Linked DNA regions of Homo sapiens: region 2 is linked to region 1. The links are contacts of gene promoters, found by promoter capture Hi-C in blood cells and fetal thymus (Javierre and others, 2016). All regions are on one chromosome and are shown on one strand. Each heading gives the region's core, a stretch centred on a gene start or on the middle of the fragment in contact. The rest is flanking DNA. Distances are from core to core; before and after follow the strand shown. Region 1 holds the start of SLC4A3 (solute carrier family 4 member 3). Region 2 holds the start of GMPPA (GDP-mannose pyrophosphorylase A).

Region 1 (7,829 bases), core at 5,299-7,798:
AATCTGTGCTCTTTCCTCTCAACTGTGTTGCCTCTCAGGCCTTCCAGAGTGCCCACCCTACTTCCCCCTTCAGTCCCTTTCCTTTTTTTTGACTGGAGTCTCATTCTGTTGCCCAGGCTGGAGTGCAGTGGCACAACCTTGGCTCACTGCAACCTCCGCTTCTAGGGTTCAAGCGATTCTCCTGCCTCAGCCTCCCGAGTAGCTGGTATTACAGGCATGTGCCACCAGGCCCAGCTAATTTTTGTATTTTTAGTAGAGATGGGGTTTTGCCATGTTGGTCAGGCTGGTCTTGAACTCCTGACCTCAGGTGATCCACCTGCCTTGGCCTCCCAAAGTGGTGGGATTATAGGCGTGAGCCACCATGCCTGACCTTCAGTTCTTTTCTATGCATCTCCTTGTGGCACCAACTTCCAGGGAAACCACATTCTTCCAGAAAAACACAAACCAGATCATCTAAATATCCAGGCAGACTGTTCTTTCCTGCCATAGGGCCTTTCCAGGCTCTTCCTTCTGCCTAGAATGTTCTTCTCTCCCCACTTCTCCAACTCACCCTTCATGGCATGGCCAGTTCTTTCGTTCCCTTCAGGTTTTTCCTCCTTGTCACCTTCTTACAGAGGATGACCCTAATCCTACTTCCTGAATGTTCACTGTAACTGTCCTTTCCCTTCATGGCCTTTGCCATGTTTTTTAATTATAAGTTGTGTTTGCTTGTTTGTTGTCTTTAAGGTACCCAAGAACAGGGACCAGGATTTTTTCACCAATATATACGCAACCTGGCATGGAGTTCTGAGTGAGTGTGTGAGCTTCAGTTTACACACTGGGTGCGTGAAATGTTACTTCATAACACTGGCAAAACAGCCTGATTTTATTTCAAGCCCCCATCCCACAGGGTTAGCAGGACTCACTGACTTCACTTTCTCCCCTCTCTGCATCTTGGGGACCCTCCTGCTTTGCTGATGGGGAAGGTCAAAGGGTCTGCTCCTCCACTCCTTCCCCATCTTCCAGCCAAGACACTGTCTCTCTTGCTAACCCTCTTCCTCTTTCTTCCTTCACAAACCTCCCTTGGTTCCCTAAAGCATTGTCTCTGGAAGAACAAAAGGCAGAAGGGCTCGTAGGCGATTTCTGCTTTCTGTCCTACCCATTCGCCCCAAATAACAAAACTCGAAGCAGGTTACCTGCTTGGGTAGGGGCAGAAGAGGAGCATGCAAGGACATAGATCTGTATCTCAAAATTCTATGTTAGCCAAATACATCAGTAAAGACGGGAGCTGGAAGGTGGATTCTGCAGGGGTGGGAGAAACTTCAGGGACATTGGTGCTGTCCTGAGATTGGATTTATTTCAAAGTTGAGTCCAAATTTACCAAGCAACCCATGAATTATGATGGGATAAACCACCGCAGAGTAACAACGATAGTAAATAATAAGAATGTCATTTATTGAGCACCTATTTTGTGCCAAGCATTCAACTGGCATTTTACATATAGCATCTCTAACTCCAGAGTCTGAGCTCTTTCTCAATGCCATGTTATCTCTTGTGTAAAAATAAGATCTTACTCACCACCAGGCCAGTCAGCAGCAAATGGCACTGGGTGCTCTGCTGTGGGGAGTGGGGAGATACTTTTGGCAAGAGTCTAAGTGAAACTGGGGCTAGCTCAACCCATACCCTGCTCTATTCCAGAAACTCTCCAGCCTGCCAAGTTAGGTTTTCCAAGGCAAAGATTGGTCCATGACCAAAGAGTGTCACAATCTACCCTGGTGGGGATAAAAGTCATTCTGGATGTCCCCACCTTCTTAGAGTTTGCAATTGTCATATTTAATATGGCTCTTAGAATTATTGCTCTGGTAAGGACAAGCTTTTGCTTATTTTACGTGTGTACATTTCACCATTTTTTCACAGTGCAAGTTATTTGAGGACTTTTTGGTATTTTTGTCTCTTAGATTTGTAGTAGTATTGAAACTAGCTAACAGTGTTGAGCACTTACTATAGGCCAGTCACCCTTTTATACAAATGAACTCATTTCATCCTCTCAACAACCCTGTTATTATTGCCATTTTACAGATAGGCAATCTGAGACCCAGAGAGGGCAAATAACTTGATCAAAGTCACACAACTGTCAAGTGGCAGAACTGTGCTATGAACTCAGGCGGCTTGGCTCTAGAGGTCTCACATTTAACTATTCCCCTATACAGACGCTAGTCACAAAGATGCAGTCTCCTTGAAAAGTCGATCTGGGAAGTTAGTGGTCTATTTCAGTTTGTGCCCATGGCATGGAAGGTCTAACAGTTGTGGGAGGGCATCAAGACATGGTGGGGGAGGCTGGGCATGGTGGCTCATGCCTGTAATCACAGCACTCTGAGAGGTCGAAATGGGTGGATCACTTGAGGTCAGGAGCTCGAGACCAGCCTGGCCAACATGGTGAAACCCCATCTCTACTAAAATTGCAAAAATTATCTGGGTGTGGTGCCCGTCTATAGTCCCAGATACTTGGGAGGCTGAAGCAGGAGAATCGCTTGAGCCCGGGAGGCAGAGGTTGCAGTGAGCCAAGATTGTGCCATTGCACTCCAGCCTGGGTGACAGAGCGAGACTCTGTCTCAAAAAAAAAAAAAAAAAAAAAAAAGACATGGTGCGGGGAGGTACTGTGGTATGTGATATATGAGGATAAATATAGGACATAAAGCCAGAAGCCCTTGCATCTGCTTCTGGCCATGTTGCCTATGAGCCTTAGACCTTGGGCAAGCCAATTAAACTTACCAAGCCTCATTTTTCTCACTTGTCAAATGGGGTTAAGATGCTCTACCACAGAGGGTTGTTGTGAGGAACCAATGAGAATATGAATATTAAAGTGGCTTGTAAGCTGGAAAGCACTACCTGCATTTAAAATAATGAAGTTATCATTGTTGTTATCCTTAAGAGCACTGGATGGAGATGATGGCGAATGACACAGTAATCATAAGACAGGCAGGGGCTACCCAGGCCTGTTAACAGGAGGGCCATTCCCTCACATCCTCTCTGCCAGCTCCTTGATGTTGGCATCACTAATGTCTGGTGCCTGCTCATCCCATGACCTAGACTTAGAGCCCATTCCCCTGATTCTAGCAGTCAGGATGACTAGTTGGAAATAACAGCCACTTTAAGCTGGAAGGGAATTTACTAAAAAATAATGAGGATTAGAGGGTATTCTCGGGAGGAATAGAGAGCAAGGACTTAATGACCAGCTATAACATGAGAACTTCTCTGCCTTCCATGCCTGCAGAAGTCTGAGTCTCCTGTGCACAATGCTCACTTCTAAATTCAGGTCTTGCACAGGTGAGTCTGACTGGTGGAACCGAGGTCAGTATCTGTGCCCTGGCTGCAATGGTTTTCTGGCTTCTATCTTGGCAAGAGAAGACTTATGAGAAATGACCAAAATGTAAAAGTGGGTTTTCAAAGATCTGGGTGGCCACAGATGACAGATATCTGCCATACTGGTCTAGTTCCCAGCACGCTGGACCCGCAGAGTGATTTCAGGGAACAGAATCAGAGGAATCCACCCGAGGGCTTCTGGCCCATTCATGGGGAGCCCAGAGAACGGTGTGCTTTGCCTCCAAATCTGGGTGGTGTGGCGGGATGGCTCCTGCTCCTTCGGACCTAAGGGACAGGCTGTGGTGCTGCTGCATGTGCAGACAAGTGTCCTATGCTGCCAGCATGCAGGGTGGGGACATTCCTGTGAGACTGGACTGTGAGGAAGGGTGTGACAGTTGGCTACTGCTCTAAGCTGGCCTGTCGCTGGCTTCAGCCTTTGCTGTCACCTTTCCTGTCACCATTTCAGTGTCTACAGGCTGTAAGCTAGAAGCTGACACATACCCAGAGTGGCCATCCTTTGTGCATGCAAGGAGTGCTCTTTTGTCACAGAAATGAAGACCCCATCGGGAACACACTGTAGGGGACTGACAATTACAGGTGCGCCGCAGGCAGGATGTCAAAGACGAGAGCGGGCCTAATGAAAGCATGCGTTTATGTCTAATAGGATGAGTTGGTGGGTGTCAGCATCATCTTACTCCCCCCAGCCTGGAAAGAAAGAGATAAACATGGGTGTCTAAAGGCTCTTCAAGGGGAGATTTTACTCCATCATCTCAGAGGGGTGGAGGAGAGAGGAAGGTCTGTAAGGGTAGAGAACGAAGCCTCAGACTCTGGGTGGGGTGCGGGTCTCCAACTGAAAGAATGGGGGTCTGGGGCTACCAAAAGTTGAGGGCCTGTGCTCAGCATCCTCTCTGGGGTGGATGGAACCTCAGAGGGACAAGTCCTGTGACACCCTTATGGCATCTTGGTGTGCAGGATGTACATGGCCTGGTACACCAGGGGTCCCTGGTTGGCAAGACCCTTCTCAGGCTGTCTCAGTATTAAAGTAACTGCTGTCTGACTTTACAGACTAGAGGAGCGGGGCTGGGAACACAATGTCGAGGTGGATTGAAGACCAGAGCCCCTGTGCAATGCCGACCAGGAAAGGTTCCAAGGCTCTTGAGTGTCTCTAAGGACGTGAAGGCCCTACCAAAACAAAATTCAAGGTAGGGACTTGGAACCACATTGCCTGGCTCAGAGGAATAAAGAATTGGGATAGCTCTGGTTTGCTAGGGCTACTGTAACACAGTATCATAAACCCAGTGGCTTAAACAATGGAAATCTACTGTCTTACAGATCTGGAGGCTAGAAGCCAGACATCGAGGTGTCTGCAGGGCTAGGCTCTCTCTGAAGGGACTAGGGAAGGATCTGTTCCAGGCCTCTCTCCTAGCTTTGGTAGTTCCTTGGCTTGTGGCAGCATAACTCCAGTCTTCACAAAGCGTTCTCTGAATGCACGTCTCTTTGTCCAAATTTCCCCCATATATATATATACATATATTTTTTTTTTTTGAGATGGAGTCTTGCTCTGTCACCCAGGCTGGAGTGCACTGGCACGATCCCTGCTCACTGCAACCTCTGCCTCCTGGGTTCAAGCAATTCTCCTGCCTCAGCCTCCTGAGTAGCTGGGATTACAGGCGTGTGCCACCACGCCCAGCTAATTCTTAGTAGAGACAGGGTTTTACCATGTTGGCCAGGCTGGTCTCGAACTCCTGATCTCACGTGATCCACCCGCCTTGGCCTCCCAAAGTGCTGGGATTACAGGTGTGAGCCACCGCACCTGGCCAATTTCCCCTTTTCACTGGAACACCAGTCATAATGGATGAGTCCACCCTTATCTTAACATCTGCAAGAACGTTATTGCCAAATAAGGGCACACTCTGATGTACCAGGGGTTAGGACTTCAACGTATAAATTTTGGGGGACACTACTCAACTCCCAACAGCTGGGTCTCCCATTCTGAGTTTTGGGGCACAGCTGTGCTCTGCCTAGGCATAGCTGATTCCCACCCTAGGAATTCCCACCTTGGGACTCACCATGTGAGACTTAGGAGGACAGTTCATCTCTTTCAGTTAAAAATTTTGTTTGTGGCTTGGAGAGTCACTTCAATACATGGATAATGATGCCCAAACCTGTCGGCAGCCTGCTTTCCAGCTGTGACCATGGCAGGTAACGAGCCTCCCTGAGTCTCCACTGTCCTCTGCCGACCAAATGGGAATCATAACAGCTCCTCTTATTATTATGCCTGAGACGAGGCAGCCAGTCTGGAGAGGGCCAACCTAGCACAGGACTGTGAGCACACACAAGACAATGTGGGCGTCCAACAGATCCTAGCTCCCTTCCCCTTGGAAGGCTATGCACACAGAAAATCTTTCCTTGGGTTGAGCTGAGATCTAGATGAGGCCAGGGGTCAGACGCGGTGAAGTACCAAGGTCACAGGGCTGTTATGGCATCGCACTGTGTAGAAGTCCAGTTTCATTGATCTCGGGATAGGGGCCGATTGGGGTCCAGTGGCTCCTTCGAAAGACCTTTTGCCCTTGGAAAATGAGATGTGACCTCAGGGATAGGGGGAGAAGGGAGAGGAAATGTGGAAACGGAGCCACACAGTCTTAGAGTTGCATAGAACTTTGGAACACCCCTATTGCAGGCCCCTCTCGCTACAGCTGGGGAAGCTGAGGCGGGAGGAGGGGAGGTACTGTGTCAAGGTCAAACGTTGGGTGGTGCCAGGCGACAGAAGCCAGGCCTTTGAGAGGCAAGGCTGTGGTAGAAATGAAAGGGGAGGTGGTGGGTGCTTCCAGGGGTCTGTGAGCTCCGTTCCCAAGACTGGAGGGGCCTGTGTCTGCGGAGGGGGTGGCTTCCTGGGCTCTGGAGGGGAGGGGAGGCTAAAAGCAGGGTTGGGGAGCGAATCTGGGGGATTGTGGGAATATCGGGCCGCGCCCCAGCCCCCAGCGATGCGTGGGGCGCCTGGAGAAGGGGCGCACGGGCAGGTGGGGTGCTGCGGGGCCCGCGCGTGGGGGCCGCGCCGGCCGGGGCGGGGTGAGTCACGGCCCGCCCGCTCCCATTGTGCGGCCCGGCGGCGGCGGCGGCGGCGGCGGCGGCGGCGGAGGTGCGGAGCGGAGCGCGAGGAGGTGGAGCCGCGGGCTGCGGGCTCCGGCGCCTGCGTCCGCCCGGCCAGCCCGGCTCTGCGCTGCGAGAGGCCGGACGGCAGTCGCGGCTGCGCTCGGGAGAGAGCGCGGGGGACATGGGGCGCGGCGGCCCGCCTGGGCCTCGCAGGCTCCGGAGCCCCGAGGTACCGCGGGGCGGGGCACGCCGGGCAGGGCGGGGGACCCGGGCTGTCCCGGGCGTGGCTGGGCCTCGGAGGGGCGCTTGGGCCGGGAGCGTGCATCCGGCTCCCGGGTGGGGGGCGCCAGCGCAAGGAACCTGACCCCGCCCTCCTCCCCCAGGGCTCCCCGCTAGGCCCCCTCAGTGGCCCCTCCTTCTCACCTGGGTCTCGGGTCCCCTAGTGAGCGAGAGCGTCCCCAGCCGCCTACCTGGCCATGGCCAACGGAGTGATCCCGCCGCCCGGGGGCGCCTCCCCCCTACCCCAGGTGATCGGCGCGCGCGGGGGCGGGGGAGAGATGGGGGAGGAGAGGGGAGGGACCTTAGGGTGGGCAGAGGAGTCCTCTGGCCGACCCCGGGACCCCCCAGATCCAGGGATGAGCTGGGCTGGGGGTTACGGAGAAAGAGGGGGGTTTTTGATATTTTCCAGATCCGTAGCCCTCTCTCTTTACAAGCTCTGGGAGCCCAGAGAGGGTGGTTTCTGGGATGCTGACACAGGCCTGGGAGCAAGGGGAGGGGGCCCGATGGTGTGAGAGCCTGCTGAGCTCCCCCAACTAGGGCTTGGAGTTGGGGTGGGTGTGGGGCCTTCATGGGTCAGGGGTCCTTAGCAGAGGCCGTCTGGGCCTGCAGGTCCGGGTGCCCTTGGAGGAGCCCCCTCTAAGTCCAGACGTGGAGGAGGAGGACGATGACTTGGGCAAGACCTTGGCTGTGAGCAGGTTTGGGGACCTCATCAGCAAGCCCCCGGCCTGGGACCCCGAGAAGCCCAGCCGCAGCTACAGCGAGCGGGACTTTGAGTGTGGGTAGCCTGGGGACCCCTAGTGCGGCCGCCCTCGCCACCATCACCTTCATCGCCACCATCACCGCGCTCACCTCCGGCTTGGTCACCCAGTGCCATCCTGTGCCGGACACTGTGCTGGACTCTGTGCTGGGCCACATGCCGTGTTCAGTCATCCTGCCTCCCCCACCCATCGCCTGTCCGCCTGCCTGGGGAGGTGGGCCCCAGACCAGGGGAGATCTAGGGAGCTGGGCCTGGGCCCTTCCACGGTGACCTTCCCCTTCCCCTTCGTCCCCACTCACTCCCTCCTTGTCCCACCTCGGCTAGTCCAACTCCGCCTTTCCCCTCCTTGCTGTATCAC
Region 2 (7,829 bases), core at 2,428-4,927, 130 kb before region 1:
GCCCCCACACTAGGGCGGGTAGTTCCAATGAATGGAAGCAATGCTTCTGCCCGGTGCCCGGCCTGGGCAGACTGGCCTCCAGGCAATCCCCAGAGGGGTTAACTGAACCCCTTCACCCCAGGTGGTCTGATGCCCCTATGCACCAATTTATGCCCCCAAAAAGGAATTGGGCAGACCTAGGGTTGGGGCCAGTAGTGGTGCTAATCTCCAAGGACAGTGCAGTCTAAACAGCCCCCACCATGTGACATCGAGGGGAGTGAGTGGGGATGGGGAAGGCATGGAGGGGCTGCTATTCTCAAAAATCTTTCCCGTCCCCTCCCGGTTTATCTCAGTTTACCGCCAGGGGGCACAGTGTGGAAGTGACAACCCTGGACTCCTGGGGTTGGGGGTAGGGGAAGAGTAAGGAGCTTCTGGATTGGTCTTGACAGCCACGTGGCCCTGTTGCCGTTAGCTGTAGGGGCCCTGAGGACCAAGTCCGATGCTACTCTGGCTGTATTCAGGGAAACCCCAGAAACACTCAAACCCCTTAACCAACAGGGTGTGTTGTCTGACTATCCAGAGCCCAACCTGATTGAAAAGCTGCCCCAGCAGGAAGCTGGATCTCTTGTCAGCTAGGGGCTGAATCTGGTCCTCCTGGGAGTGGGATGGATACCCCCTGCCCTGGGAGGGGACAGGGCAGCATCCAGCTGTCCAGCTGTCCAGGTGCTGACGCAAGGTGCACCTCAGAGCTGCTCGGGTTTCTCCCCACGGGCCTAGCCCAGCGGCTGAGCCAGCATCCCAGGCATCCACAGGCTAAATAAAGAGCCTGCCTGAGTCAGAGGGAGGCGGATGGGGCCCCGGGGGGCTTGGGGCAACCACGCCAAACAAGGCAAGGAGGGGAGCGATGTATAAAACCGGGCCCAGGGCTGAGCACCTGCCTGCACCCCTACTGTGCCATCCAGAAGGGCTCTGTGCTGCCTGCAATCCAGCCAGTCGACTCAAGTCCCTAGGTCAACCCCTCCACGGTGAGTCTGATCCTCAGAGAAGCCGCAGACACCCCCATTCCTCCATCTCCCTGAATGTTCTGACCAGGGAGGAAAAGGGCTGAAGGTGGGAGCCTCTGTCTCAACCTGGACCCCCATATTTGTCGCCCACTCCCCAGATGTCTAAAGCAGCTCCTGCCAAAAAGCCAGTGGCTGTGGCCCCAGCTCCTGGATGTACCCTGGACATCAATGACCCACAGGTCCAGAGTGCGGCCATTCGTATCCAGGCCTCTTACCGGGGCCACAGGTGAGAGGGAACCCCGGAGCCCTGTGGAGGAAGGGAGCTGCAGAGAGCGCACTCTTGAGTAGGGTTTGAGTAAGCGCTGAGCAGCGTCAGGAGCCTTTAGAATGAGTGGTCTCAGGGGAGGGTCGTTACTGAGGTATGGGGGAGTGGCCGGGAGGAATGCATCATCCTATCAGGGCAGCAGTTCAGGAGCAGTCCTCTTCCCTACCAAGCCACACGTTTAGGGGTCTGGCCGGTCCAGGGGGCAGGTAGGAGATGGTGCGCTCGCGGTAAGGGCTGTGGCCGGGCCTGTCTTAGGAACTCTGGGCCCTGACTCGGCCCGCGGGTAGGTCCCGGAAGGAGCTGCGCGAGAAGGGGCCGCCGCGGGTGCTGGAGCCGCTGAAGGACGTGGTGCTGATCGAAGGCAGCGCGGCCAAGCTCACTTGCCGCATTTCGGCTTTCCCGGACCCATTCATCCGCTGGAGTAAGGACGGCAAGGAGCTACGTGACGGTCCCAAGTACCGCTACGTCTTCGAGGACCCTGACGTGGTGGCACTGGTGGTGCGCGACGGCGAGCTGGCAGACCTGGGCCAGTACAGCATCAACGTCACCAACCCCTTCGGCCAGTGCTCCGACTCGGCGCGCATCCTCGTGGAAGGTACGCGCGCCCCGGGCGCAGCGCCAGGGCGCAGACCAGCACCACTCAGCCAGAGCCCGCAGCCCGGTCCAGCTGCGCGTGTTTACCTCTGGGCCTAGCTACAGGGTCCCCGCCAGCCCAGCTCTGGGCACGGCCTGGGGCGCATCGCCGCGCCAGCCAAGTGCGTCCTTCCCTACCTCGGGATCCAGCTCCACCCGGGCTGAGCAGTCAGCTGTGGACTTCCATCACGCGGCTCCGGGTCCCCAAGGTCACACAGCAAGCCAGAGGCAGAGCCAGGGTTGGACCCGGGTCTTCTGGCTCCCAACTCTGGCAATTTCCACTACCCGGAGCGGTCTCTGAGGCACCGCGAGATGTGTGAACATTCAGGGGCTTTCGCCCGCCTTATCTCTCTTGATCCTCTATTCGACCCCGAGAAGTAGGAGAGGCAGGGATAAGTCCCTTTAACAGCCAAGGAGATGAAACCAGAGAGGCTAATGATTTGCTCAACGTCACACTGCGAGTTTAAATGCATCTGTATTTAGTGCCGGGTATTAGCCGGTGAGGTGATGCCCTGCCTCATCTCCGGGTCCTTCACGGGGTTTCGCTCCCCTTTCCTTCCGCTAGTCCCGACGAAGATTCAAAAGGGACCCGACAACACTAAGGCGCGCAAAGGCACCACCGTGACGCTGACTGCGGAGATCCTGGGAGAGCCTGCGCCCGACGTAGGCTGGACCAAGGACGGGGAGGACATCGAGGAGGATGACAGGCGAGGGCCGGGACCTGCGGCACGGCCAGGGCCTGGGGCTGGAACCTGGGTGGGACTGAGCCCAGAAATCTGGCTGGAGTGACGGGGGCGGGGACTGGGCAGCGAGGAACAGAGCTGGCTAAGGAGCCCCGCCCAGTGCGCCCGTGTACTGACCACGGCTCCGCCCTCCTCCCCGCCGCCCTTCCGCAGGGTGTTCTTCGAGATCGGCAGCACCACCACGACGCTGACCATTCGCCGGGCCACGCCTCAGGACAGCGGCAAGTACGAGGTGTACGTGGAGAACAGCCTGGGCATGGACCAGAGCTTCGCTCGCGTCGACGTGGCCTGAACGGCACCCCCGGACCTTCCGCCCTGGCGCCGAGCCCGGGGGTGGTGGGACCCACAGCCCTCCACCAGCTTGCTTAATAAAGCTGCTCTCTGACCCTCCGCGTCTGTCCTGCTCTTCCGCGTCGCCATTCCCTCTCCCCCGCACCAGCGCCCACACGTATTCCAGACCCCCACGCCAAGGTCACAGCCTGTTGGAGTCACAGGGAGGTCTGGAGAGCGCCTAGCGCCGTGCTGCATTTCAGACAGTCAAACTGATAAGAGTTGCCCTCGCCGTCCAAGGCGCCCTCACTTCCCAGCGGTACCGCCGGCTGGGCCTGGGACTCCGCCTTCTCCGCTTTTGAGCGCCTCCAGCCCCAGCCCCTTGTGGCTGTTTGCCCCTGGCCCCGCCCCTTCCAGGGCTGGCCACACACCCCTGCTGTCCTTAGTCCCGTTTTCCTGTGGGACCCAGTTCCTCACTTCGGCTGCTGCCCCGAGGCCGATTCCCCAACAGCTCGGGTCCCAGTCTTAAGTTCCAGGCTGGGCTTCTCAGGCCCCACCCTTCTTCGCATTTAACCCCGCCCCGCGATCCCTTGGTCACACCCCTGGACTTCAGCACCTCTTTCCTCTCCCATAAAGTTAGAAAGCGGGTAAAGGGTCAGACTACAATTCCCGGCAGACCCTGCGAATGAGTTCTCGCGACTTGCGAGAAGACACGTGCGCGGAAGGAGCTTGCAGTAGCGGGCGGCAGAGCTGGAGTGAAGGGAGCTAGTGGTAAAGGGAGCTGGTGGAGGGGTGGCGGCAGGGGTAAGGGGCAGGGGACACCCTCTAGACGGAGAGCGGGCTCCGAGGTCCTGGCTGGCCCTCGGTGCGCCCGCCCCTGTGTTGGTCCCACAATCCCTGGCAATGAGAGGCCAGGGTTTATTGGACAGAGTCAGTTGTGGGGTTCAGAGGGTCAGCAATCAATCAATCCTCCGAATCCAGAGATTTAGACCCAGTCGTCCGTATTAGGACTGGAGGGGGGTCAATAGGTTCAGTGTTTGAGATGCCAAGGGAACCTGTCTTTTGATTTGGGGTTCAACATACAGAGGTTAGTTTTAGGATTCATGTTTAGCATATAGAGGATTTTTGCTGGGATTAGGGGTTCTTCAAATTCAGATCAGTGTTAGTTCAGTACTTGGGGATTACGTTCAGGATTTAAGTTAAATATCTGAGGCTCACTCAGGGTTTGCTGTCCAATATTCAGGGTTCACTATTGGGGTTCAGGGCTTAATATCTAGAATGAAGACGCAACACTTTGGGAATTTGAGGCTTCAGTATTTTGAGGTTTGGGTCTGAGAAGGGAGTCTCTGCCAGGTTTCTGAATTTGCAGAATTTGTTCATGGCCAGAGGGAAGTCTTTTAGAGATCAAATTGTGGGGTGTGAATTTCAGAATTTGGGAGGAATCACTGTGAGGTTTGAAGGCCGACTGGAATCTGGGTTGGGATTTGAGATGTGTGGGATTTGTGAGGTTCTGTCCAGGCAGGGACTATATTGAGCTTTGGGTTTACATCTTGGGGGAGGGCTAAGTGCTGCTATTTGGGGTTTGGGGTTTGGTTGGGGTGTGAGATCTGAGCTTGATTTCTCTGCTGGGATTTGAGATGTGTGGGATTTGTGAGGTGTTGGGTCCAGGCAGAGACTATATTGAGCTTTGGGTTTACATCTTGGGAGAGGGCTAAGTGTTGCTATTTGGGTTTTGGGGCTTGGTTGGGGTAGGAGATCTGAGCTTGATTTCTCTGTTGGAATTTGAAGTTTAGGTAGCAGTCACCATTATGCTCAAAGCGGTGATCCTGATTGGAGGCCCTCAAAAGGGTGAGGTGCCAGGGGAATGGGGGGAGGAGGTTGGGCTGGAGTGGTAGGCGGGATGGGGGCAGAGGAAGGCAGGAGGCCGAAATGTTCTCCTCTCTCCTCTCCCAGGAACTCGCTTCAGACCTTTGTCTTTTGAGGTGCCCAAACCATTGTTTCCTGTGGCAGGGGTCCCTATGATCCAACACCATATTGAAGCCTGTGCCCAGGTAACCTCAGGGGCTCCCCTCTCTCACCTCACTTCCTGCTTATCTTCATGCTGTTTCCCCCTTTCCCAACCATGAACTCTTCCCACCAGGCATAACTCCAAGGACCATCATTCACAGATGACAATGTGAATGGCGCCCCCTCAAGTTATGCTGTGCAGCTGCCCTGCTGTCTTCCCCTAATCTAGTTTCTCATCTGGCCTCTTCCTGCTCAGATTTCACTCCTATTTTTAAAGTGTGGAATGTGAGATCAGGCAAGGATCTTGGAGACAATGTAAAGCCGTAGCATGGAGACTCTTAATGATAACCAAGCACAAATTCATATCCTTGATCACATTGTTGCTCATTTCTTTATTGCTTTTCGTATTGAGCCAGGCAAGGTTTTGGTTTGAATTCAGTCTCTGCCTGCTGTGAGGTCTGCAACAAATAACACACCCTCTCTGACACTCAGTTTCCTTATGTGTAAAATGGGGGTGATTAGACCTACCTTGTTGGGTGGTGAAGCTTAGAAATGATATTTGTAAAATGCCTAGTACAACGCAGACCCTTGATAAATGGTACCCTTACCTCATGCTGATCTCAAGCTTAGGCTGACAGATAATAAAAATGGCCGGGGGGGAGGGGGCGGGGTGGAAATGGATTAATGCAGCTTGGTAGGCAAAGTCTTTCTTAGAGTGAGTCCCAGTTCAGGTTGGTGGGGGTAATAATTGATTGAAAGATCAGGCCTGGCATGGTAGCTCATGTCTGTAATCCCAACGCTTTTTGAGGCCGAGTCAGGAGGATCGCTTGAGGCCAGGAGTTCTAGCCTAGCTTTGGCAACATCAAGAGACCCCTTCTCTACAAAAAGTTTAAAAATTAGCTAGATGTGATGGCCTGGCTGTAGTCCTAGCTGCTCTAGAGGCTGAGGCAGGTGGTGACATGGCTGTAGTCTTCAATACTCAGGAGGCTGAGGTGGGAGGATCGCTTGAGCCCAGGACGTGGAGGCTGCAGTGAGCCAAAATCATGCCACTGCACTCCAGCCTGGGCAACAGAGCGAGACCCTTTTTCACAAAAATAAAACAAAACGAAAAAAGATCAGGCCTCCGACTTCCTCCAAATTCCTCATTGTCCAGAGGAGAAAATAGCCCAGAGTGGTGAGTGCCCTGGGGCCCCACAGCTGAGACTGAAACTGGTTTCTGGACTTTGGGCCAGCACCAAGGATTTCCCCAACATCCCCTCCTATTAGATATTCTTCATCCCAGCCTCTTCCCTTGTCCTCAGGTCCCTGGAATGCAGGAGATTCTGCTCATTGGCTTCTACCAACCTGATGAGCCCCTCACCCAGTTCCTAGAAGCCGCCCAGCAGGAGTTTAACCTTCCAGTCAGGTGTTTGTGCACACACTCGTATATGGGGGGGTGGGGATGCCCTAGGCCTCTGAGTTCTTGGAAGTGGGTTGAGTCAGCATTTGCTGGAGTTCATCCTCGCCTACTAGAAGGATTCTTGTTTGGACATCAATGAATCTCTGAGTATATAGAGTTTCTCTGTGGGCCTTGGGCAGGAGTAGTCCTGGGAGCAAGCGGTGGCGGTCAGGTGCCCTGGCTCATGGTATCTGTTTCCTAAGATCCACTGAGCTGGCTCTCGGGTCCCTGGGGACAGGTACCTGCAGGAATTTGCCCCCCTAGGCACAGGGGGTGGTCTTTACCATTTTCGAGACCAGATCCTGGCTGGGAGCCCCGAGGCATTCTTCGTGCTCAATGCTGATGTCTGCTCCGACTTCCCCTTGAGTGCTATGTTGGAAGCCCACCGACGCCAGCGTCACCCTTTCTTACTCCTTGGCACTACGGTGAGGGGGTCAGGAGGGCTGGAGGGTGTAGAGGAGGTGATCCCAAGAGCTTCCCGGAATTCAGGGTGTTGGGGAGGCAGGGGCGCCCCGGGAGTTGGTGTGGGAGCTGGCGTCAGGAGGGAGATGCGCTGCTCTGGCAGCATGGAGGTGTTAGTGGAGACCCCGAGCCCTCTGGCTGTTCAGAAGTAGGGAGGGGGAGGGCAGCTGTCAGTTTCCACCCTTGCTGAAGGCCTGTCAGTGGCAGAGCTGCATGCCAGGTGCTGTAGCGGAGGGAAAGAAAGAAAAAACAGACGTGGCTGCCCTGGAGCAGGCGGGTCACTGTCTCGGGTGTGTCTGTCTTTCAGGCTAACAGGACGCAATCCCTCAACTACGGCTGCATCGTTGAGAATCCACAGACACACGAGGTGAGAGCAGAGTGGGGGCTGGGTGGGTGCCTACTCTGTGTCATCATCCCCTCTACCTCAGGCCTCTAGAGAATGCTGGCACAGTATGGGGTGGGCTCTAGTCTTGTCAGACAGGTGAGACACTCCCGATTAATCATCTTATATCCCTTTAAGAGAGATTGACCAGGGGGAGGGGGGGAATGGTTAATTTCCCTGGGGGTGGTGCTGTAATAAATGTATGCACAGTGCATGATGGGAACACCAAGGGGGCCCCAACCCAGCCTTGCTGGGGTGGGAGTAGAGAGGGCTTCCTGGAGGAAGCAAGGTCTGAGCAGAGTCCCATTTGTCTAGATGACAAAGGAGACAGGAAGGTACTACAGGCAGAGGGAATGGCAGGTATAAAGGCCTGGAGGCAGGAAGTAACATACCAGAAGCAGGAGCATGATAGGCAGGGCAGCAGGGCTCTGTCCTGTTTTGTGAAACTCCCTTCTCCTAAGCCCCTTGACTTTCACATAACCCTCCCTCCTTTATTTATTTATGTATGTATGTGTTTATTTATTTATTTTGAGACAGAGTCTCACTTTGTCTTCCAGGCTGGAGTGCAGTGGCATGATCTTGGGTC

What was found. Contacts are between HindIII fragments. The CHiCAGO score rates a contact against its expected background, and 5 or more counts as called.
Region 2: the fragment with the promoter of GMPPA here is called in contact with the fragment with the promoter of SLC4A3 in region 1 in 2 of 17 cell types (M0 macrophages and M2 macrophages); the score reaches 5.9 in M0 macrophages.

Annotation. Positions count from the first base shown.
Region 1 is chr2:219,621,082-219,628,910 of GRCh38, forward strand. It overlaps SLC4A3 (solute carrier family 4 member 3), which reads left to right and starts at 6,549. Exons shown (of 23, transcript NM_005070.4): 1 at 6,549-6,664; 2 at 6,819-6,962; 3 at 7,324-7,489. The coding sequence starts at 6,912. LOC124908064 (a long non-coding RNA gene) reads right to left here and starts at 6,929. Exons shown (of 2, transcript XR_007088701.1): 1 at 6,859-6,929. RefSeq lists enhancers at 7,052-7,754, 7,755-7,829. The HindIII fragment of the contact is 16,254 bases long and covers 1,851-7,829 here.
Region 2 is chr2:219,495,214-219,503,042 of GRCh38, forward strand. It overlaps GMPPA (GDP-mannose pyrophosphorylase A), which reads left to right and starts at 3,678. Exons shown (of 13, transcript NM_013335.4): 1 at 3,678-3,725; 2 at 4,743-4,802; 3 at 4,908-5,005; 4 at 6,263-6,366; 5 at 6,638-6,824; 6 at 7,169-7,228. The coding sequence starts at 4,763. It overlaps SPEGNB (SPEG neighbor), which reads left to right and starts at 918. Exons shown (of 5, transcript NM_001286811.2): 1 at 918-1,004; 2 at 1,142-1,269; 3 at 1,596-1,903; 4 at 2,507-2,648; 5 at 2,838-3,074. The coding sequence starts at 1,142. The coding sequence ends at 2,976. The region is part of intron 1 of ASIC4-AS1 (ASIC4 antisense RNA 1); the gene reads right to left. RefSeq lists silencers at 223-403, 2,648-2,727 and enhancers at 254-548, 282-1,099, 1,918-2,735, 2,736-3,553, 3,558-3,747 and 1 more. The HindIII fragment of the contact is 29,233 bases long and covers 1-5,504 here.